Linked DNA regions of Homo sapiens: region 1 is linked to region 2. Evidence: promoter capture Hi-C in human tissues and cell types (Jung and others, 2019). All regions are on one chromosome and are shown on one strand. Each heading gives the region's core, a stretch centred on a gene start or on the middle of the fragment in contact. The rest is flanking DNA. Distances are from core to core; before and after follow the strand shown.

The links. Contacts are between HindIII fragments. The study calls those that stand out against the background at their distance.
Region 1: a contact is called between a fragment that was not itself captured here and the fragment with the promoter of ARG1 in region 2, in 1 of the 25 tissues and cell types used here (dorsolateral prefrontal cortex).

The regions. Positions count from the first base shown.
Region 1 is chr6:130,304,185-130,308,191 of GRCh38, forward strand. It overlaps a transcript of SAMD3 not described here. Among named protein-coding and RNA genes, the nearest start is that of TMEM200A, 60 kb to the right of the region's middle. The HindIII fragment of the contact is 3,594 bases long and covers 1-3,384 here.
Region 2 is chr6:131,571,390-131,575,189 of GRCh38, forward strand. ARG1 (arginase 1) reads left to right here and starts at 1,837. Exons shown (of 8, transcript NM_000045.4): 1 at 1,837-1,950. The coding sequence starts at 1,894. It also overlaps a transcript of MED23 not described here. RefSeq lists an enhancer at 1,303-1,804. The HindIII fragment of the contact is 11,485 bases long and covers 1-3,800 here.

The DNA of each region.
Region 1 (4,007 bases), core at 338-2,837, 1.3 Mb before region 2:
ATTTTCCCATTGATCTGAAGTGCCACCCAGGCTGAAGTGCAGTGATGTGATCTCGGCTTACTGCAACCTCCGCCTCTTGGGTTCAAGCGATTCTCCTGCCTCAGCCTCCTGAGTAGCTGGGACTACAGACACATGCCACCATACCCAGCTAATTTTTGTATTTTTAGTAGAGACAGGGTTTCACCATGTTGGCCAGGCTGGTCTCGAACTCCTGACATCAGGTGATTCACCCGCCTCGGCCTCCCAAAGTGCTGGGTGAAGTGCCAAATTTGTTCATAAATCAAGTTTCCATAAATGTATAGATTAGTTGTTGGGCTTCTCTCTTTAGTTCCACTGAACACATTCTCTATGTCTATGCTAATATTACACTTTCATCTTAGTTGCTAGAGCTTTATGACTTTTTACTGAAGTTAAAACAAATCTCTCCACTTACTCTTTTGCTTTAGGAGAGTTTTGGCTCTTTTCCGGACTCTTGGAATTCAGTGCATAGAATCATCTTGCTAAGTTCCATGAAAAAAAATTATGCCGAAATTTTAATTTTATCCAAACTTTAAGTCGAGATTATAATTGATATTTAAAAAACTATATTGAGTCTTTCTAAAAAGATGGCGTATCACTCTACTTATTTAGGTATTTTAAGATATCTTTCAATAAACTTTTGTAATTTTTCTACAAAGTGCTTACATATTTTAATGGTTTTTACTTAGTTGCTACTATAAACACTAAAATTACATTTTCTTCCTTTTTTTTTTTTTTTTTTTTTTTTTTGAGACAGAGTCTCACTCTGCTGCCCAGGCTGGAGTGCAGTGGTGCAATCTTGGCTCACTGTAGCCTCTGTCTCCTGTGTTCAAGTGATTGTCATGCCTCAGCCTTTCAAGTAGCTGGGACCACACATGTGCATCAGCATGCCCTGCTAACTTTCTGTATTTTTAGTAGAGATGGGGTTTCACCATGTTGCGCAGGCTGGTCTTGAACTCCTGAGCTCAGGCAATCCGCCCACCTCAGCCTCCCAAAGTGTAAAATTACATTTTCTATTTGTTGCTGGTATATAGAAATGAAGTAGATTTATTTACATTGGTTTTATTTCTAGCAACACTGCTAAACTCTTATATATCCTAATATTTTTCTATATATTCTGTGGGTTTTATGTGTAAACTTTCAACTGTATCATCTAAAGAATTATAGTATTTGTTCTCAATTTTAAATACTTAATTCTTTGACTTATTTTTTCCTTATCTTACTACCCTGTCTATAATCTCCAGAACAATGTTGAACAGAAATTGTGATAGGAATAATAATTTTTCCTGATTCTAAAGAGAATGTTTATATTCTTTTAGAAAAATGATAGCAATAAGGCCTTTGTAGATTCCCTTTTTCATGTTATGAACATTCAATTCTACCAGTTAGATAAGAATTTTAGTCATGAATGGATATTAAATTTTGTTAAATATCTTTCCTGAGTCTGTAAAGAAGGTCATATGGTTTTCCTCCTTTCAGATATTATTGGGATGCAATGTGTTGATTGATCTGCTGATATTCAAACAACCTTGAAATCTTGGAATAAATACAACTTGGCAATCTCATCTTTTAAAATAAATTGCTAATGTGCTAATATTGCTAATGCTAATATTTTGTTTAGGACTTGTCCTAGTCTGTTTGGGCTTCTATAACAAAACACCATAAACTGCATAACTTACAAACAAAATAAATTTATTTCTCCTATTTCTGAATACTTGGAAGTCCAAGATCAAGATGGCAGCAGATTCAGTGTCCAGTGAGAGCCAGCTTTTGGTTCATAGATGATGCCTTACAATGTGTCCTCACATGGTGGAAGGAAAAGGCAGTTCTCTAGGGTCTCTTTTATAAGGACACTAATCCCACTGATCTAGTTACCTCCCAGAAGCTCCACCTTCCAATACTATCACACTAAGGATTAGGTTTCAACGTATGAATTGGGTAGGGAGTGTACAAACATTCAGACCATAGCAGGACATTTTTACTTAAAAAATATTTACTTTATCAACTATTCTTGGATTATTTAAGCACTAAATTAATCACTGTCTAAGCAGAAAAATATAGGATCATTTTAGACTTGCAAGAAGGTGAAATTTAAAACAGGAAATTAAATTTATTACAAAGTTGTTAGGAGAGTTAGAGGAACAAAAAAGGAAAGATTAATTACCCAATGAAGGTAAATGAGGGTTAGAGAAGCAAAAGAAAAATGATATTACCTGATGCCTATGTTTGCTACGATTCTGAGGCTGCTGTAGCTGGAAGGAAGTTGACTAAGCAGTTACTCTTCTGCTAAGCATCTACTCTCACAGGTGGCTGCCACCATGACAGCTAAATCTACCATGGCTGGTTGAACCGACAGAAATTAGAAACAAATTGCTTCTATTCCACTAACTGTCCAGTCTCTTGTCAGTGCCTCACATTAGCAGGAACAAACAGGAAGCCAGATGGCAAGGAGATTATGAAATATAGCTTGCAGACTTCCAGCCCCAAAGATAAGTGTATACAGGGCAAGTATGGAGTAGAGAGAAAACATTAGACATCACAGTATCAAGATTTATACTAACCTTATAGAATGAGACAGAGAATGTTCTTTCTTTTTCTATTCTTTGAAAGAGTTCATGAACATGAAACTATTAATTAATATTTGCCAGAACCAACTGATAAACCATCTCATCCTGGTGTTTTCTTTCTATAATGATATTTTAAGCTACTGATTAAAGTTTTAACTACTACTTCACTACTGAGGTTCTATTTCTAAAATGTGACAAAAGATGCGGATGATCTAGCTATTGTTCTGACTTATTCTCTCATTCTCTCTGTTTCCTAGCCTTTTTGAATCATTTTAATACATTTTTACTGTATTTTTTGTGCTTCTGGACACACTTTCATGTATCTAAAGAATTCTGTGATATTTGTGAATTCACAAAGATCAAACTTTATACACATATCTAAACTTACACATGGAGTGAAAAGAAGCATTCCCTAAATGTGAGAGATTATACATGGGGTGAATGCAGTTGTGAGCAAGGCTCACAAGGGCATGAGATCTGTGCAGGTCCACAGGGCCGTCTCTTGCACTGTAATGCTCTGCTGTTGCTGTCTTGGAGTTTTTAATTTTTGAACAAGAGGTCCCACATTTTTATTTTGCATGGGTCTCTGAAAAATTACGTAGCTAATCTTTTTGTGAGCATTGGGAGAGATAGATTTGGAGTTAAGCTTTCTTTTCCTTCTTTTCTTTGTAATTAACTGTGAAAATAAGAGTTCTTCAAAGACCTATTAATGGTATTATTCAAATATTCTTTAAGAGAGGAATTAGAATATTGATTTAAGAAACTTAGGTTTATAATTTAATAAAGGAAAATTGGGCTTAATATTGGGGTGGACTGTTCCACAAACCATGGGGAAAATAGAGAATTTTGAAAATCAAATAACTATGATCCTCAGTTCATTTTTATAGAATTTTACTACAGAATTAATTTAGGTCAATTGGTTGCTAATGGTTATGTCCACAAGTTAGAATAAGCTTTTAAAAGCTTTGGTTACAAAATGTAGTAGGCCCACACTTTATTTAACTTAATCATTATAATCAATGTTTTTGTATAAGCAGATAGATGCTGGTCTGAGAGGGTTTAGCATCTATAGAATTTGAGACAGTTGTTTTAGAACCAAAGATTGTAAAAAACCAGTTTGTGTATAGCCAGTTAAGACCTGTGCTTTCATAATATCTTTTGACATAGATGTATGTGGCCAAACATGAGCCAGAAGAGTTTCATCTCACAGGTAGTCTGAGGGCCTCCCATCAAATATTTTAAACTTAAGTTTTTAAAGAACACCCATCATTGGTTAAATGTAGATACCATATAATCCTGGAAGGTTTCTCTCACATTCTGATGCACATTTGGCCTCTCTGAACAAACAAGCTTTTGTTTGACCTTTACTTTATTTGTTTGGGTTTGTTTGGTTTAGCTCTGTTAGTCTTGACTAAATCAGAA
Region 2 (3,800 bases), core at 587-3,086:
AGACCCATAAAAGGTAAATCAATTTTGAAAAAGAAGAGCAAAACAGTTACTCTTGCCTAAACAATGATAAGATGTACCGCAAAACTGTATTGATAAAACCTGATGGATCTGGTGCAGCCATAGGTAAATAAGTCAATGGAACAGAAGAAAGAGTTTAGTGACAGACAGCACTCCAATCAATTGCAAAATGAATGACTATTCAATGGGTGTTGTTGAGGAAACTGATGCATGAATGATAGAGGAAAAACGAGTTGGAAAATTTACATAACATACAAAGATGGATTCAGGAACTAAGTGAGAAAGATAAGCTCTAAGGCAAATGGAAGAAAATGTAAAACTACATACCTACAATTTGATGGGGTGGCAGGAATTTAATAAGACTTCCAAAGCACAAAGCATTCGGGGGAAATTATACAAGTGTCTATTTTAAAATTGAGGATTTTGAGTGATAACATATAAAAAGTTATCAGATTTCTGACAGGTTGGGAAAAGTTATTTGCAATGTCAATGCTATAAGGTTAATATCTAGGCAATATGAGGAATACCACAAGTAAATATTTAGGATATACAAGCAAACCCACAAGAAAAAGGTAGGAAACCTATTTGGAAAACAGTCCTATCAAAATGGACCCATGAGACTTTGGTTTCCTCATTTATCCATTCAATAAATATTTATTGAGTGCCTATTATACACCAACACTCTTCTAGGCCCTGGGGATACAGCAGACAAAATTCTCTGACCTCATGGAATTTAAATTCCAAAATGTTCTTTCCCACCAATAGGAAAAAGAAATTAGTTTCTACTAAGTGAATTTTCCCTTTAAATTACAATTACATAATTTTAAAGTCGGAAGGATCTTTAAGGTGCCTTTATTTTAAATTCATACTTTTGTATGGTGACAAATGGTAGCTCAGGGGCATAGAGGTTGACACCTTCCCAGCATTTAGACTATAAGCTCGACGGTTAAGTGGATTCAGAATGGCAGAGACTAAATCCCGACTTTTCTTCTACAGCCTATGTTGGCAACGGGTCTGAGCTTCAGTTTATTCATCAGTATAATGGCACCAATGATGAGACTTCACATAAAATTGGTATAAATATAAATATGGTATTTTGAAACAGAACTGCATCGGACACATGGTAAAAACTCAATGTTAGCTATTTTTATTTCTATACTTTGATTATGATATGATTCTACAATTATTTTCCTGTACACCATACTTCAAAAATGGTAACCTCTCTGGGTTACCAATCAAGTAACTAATTTTTTAAAGTAATCATCAAAAAAGGAAGTTATATACTCTTTATTATATTATACCCTAAAAGTTTATGAAATGTGTCTCATGGATTAACCATTTACCCTCATGTGTGAAATCTCAACTCAGGATTTTAGGGCTGGAAGGGATGTGACAGACGATCTTGCCAAGCCCGGCCCTTCTTCTACAAGGACGTCTTCAGAGATCTGGAGGAGGAAAGGGCCTTGCCCTGAGTTCGCTGAGCCAGAACAATAGGACTTCTTCTGTAGTTGTGAAACTTGTCAGTTGTTGAAGTCAGGTTAATGTCATCTGGCTGGCTTTTTAAAAGGGTGTGAAGTGAGAACATGAATAATTGTCACTTGATTAGAGACCTAGACTCAGAGTTAGGTTACTCCATGTATGAAGTAACCCCATATAGTTACTTCATACATGGAGTAACCATATAGTTACTCCATGTATGAAAAATTGCAAGACTGTTGACTGTCATTCTTTGGTTTAGTGGGTGGAGCCAGCTGTCCTCATTAGATAAAGGTTGTTTATTCAACCCAAGTATAAATGGAAAAAAAAGATGCGCCCTCTGTCACTGAGGGTTGACTGACTGGAGAGCTCAAGTGCAGCAAAGAGAAGTGTCAGAGCATGAGCGCCAAGTCCAGAACCATAGGGATTATTGGAGCTCCTTTCTCAAAGGGACAGGTAAGGAAAAAAGTCTTTCTTTGAATTCCTGGAATTTAGTTGAAAATTTTGGACTTCAAAATTTGTAAGGTGTTATTGTCTAGTTAGTTCAGTTTTCTGATACAATCTGGCCAGGAAATGCATATTTTAAAGTCCTCTCACCATTTTCCAACATTGTATAATTATAGTCACATATCCACTTACTTTTGTGGCTCGTGATCTCAGCCAAGGCTAAATTCATTTGAACCTACAGAATGTTTTCTCATATTTTTTAGGAGAAAATATTTTTCTTTGAATTGAAATGGACTCTTTCTGCATTGTAGCTACTCATTGAGGTTTAGTTGCTCTTGTTGTTTTTGATGTTACTGTGTGTATGTAGAGGAAGAGAGAATTTTAAGAAATACATTTGTTTAGTTATGTAATTAATGCCTAGAAAAATTTAATAGTTTGGTGGTAACCTTCAGGCTTCTTATAATTTGGATAACCTAAATATTATTGTTTCATGCAACTTTGTGAATAATTCATGTTATGTTAGGGTTTTAATGTTTCTATGAAACTGTTCATTCATGGACTAGGTAGAATCCTTTATGTGCCTCACTTGGAAGGGGAAAAAAAGAACAAAAAAAGAAAGAAAATCCTACTGCGGGTTGGCAACTCTAAAAGGATTTTAATGGATTTATGAAACCCCCAGATTTCCTTACAGCCACGAGCTGTGAATCCACACATGCCAGCAACATTGAATACACTTTTTTTTCTGCCTGGGCACACTTATTCTAGTAAAGAGAGTGTGATGACAGAACACCTTAGACTTCAACACGCATCTGTGCTTAAAGAGGATAAAAAACAAAGAACAAAATCAAACAAGACAATGTATGAGTTGAAACTACTAAGGTTGATTTTCTCCAGGTTTCTCAGGATCTGGGCAGCGTTTTGCTTCCTCTTAATTTGGAACCCTTGCTGTGTACTCTGACTTTTTACTGCAAAACAAATTGAGAGAGGCCAGAGGTTAGAGGCCCAAACTGCATTTGGACTGTCAGTAAATACTACTTTGCTTCCCCTGGAAATCCTCCAAAAGTCTCTCCCAAACACAGGGACATTTTGCTGACACAGAAATGTTCCTTTTAAAATCCACACTGTTCTCACCCACTCTTGAACAGGTTATAATAAATATATAATTTAAAAACCTCACAAAAGGGAAGCAAGTGTCCTCCTTCTACCACCCTCCTCCCATTAAAACATGGTCATGAGAATGGAGTTCATTGTCTCATGATTGTAAGGACTAAGAGAGAGAGATTTTTTACACTAAGTCATAGAGTAGAGAGGATAAAATGGCCAACATATAAGTATTTGTCCTCACCTAAAGGAGGTACAAGTTTGACAAATAAGCAAAAGGAAAGGATTAGAGGGCAGATGACTAAAATGTTGAGTCTGAGAAAGGGCTTCATCCCTGTCTCACCTCCTTGAAAGGCTTGCAAGGCAGCGAACAAACAATAAGGTAGGTATTATTTTTACCTTACAGTTGGGTTAAAAAAAAGCCCAGAGAGGTTTGGTAATGTGCTCAACGTCACACAGCCTTGACTGCATAATTCCAGACAAGATAATCTGATTCCAATGCCTATGCCCTTGATTTGCACTGATGTCTCTTCAGACTATTCAACTCCAAAGGCGACCTTATACTTGTGGCCATTTAGGGATTGGGCCCAGCTTAGAAAGTCGGTGGAGCTGACAAAGCAATTTCCAAAGTGGGCAGATAGAGCAAGCAAGAGGAAAGCCCAATCATGAGAAGCCATTTGAATAAAACAAATAAAAAAGAATTCTAGAAAATTTAATGGCTGTGTTATAGCAAATATAGTGTCAACTAAGGGGTCTAT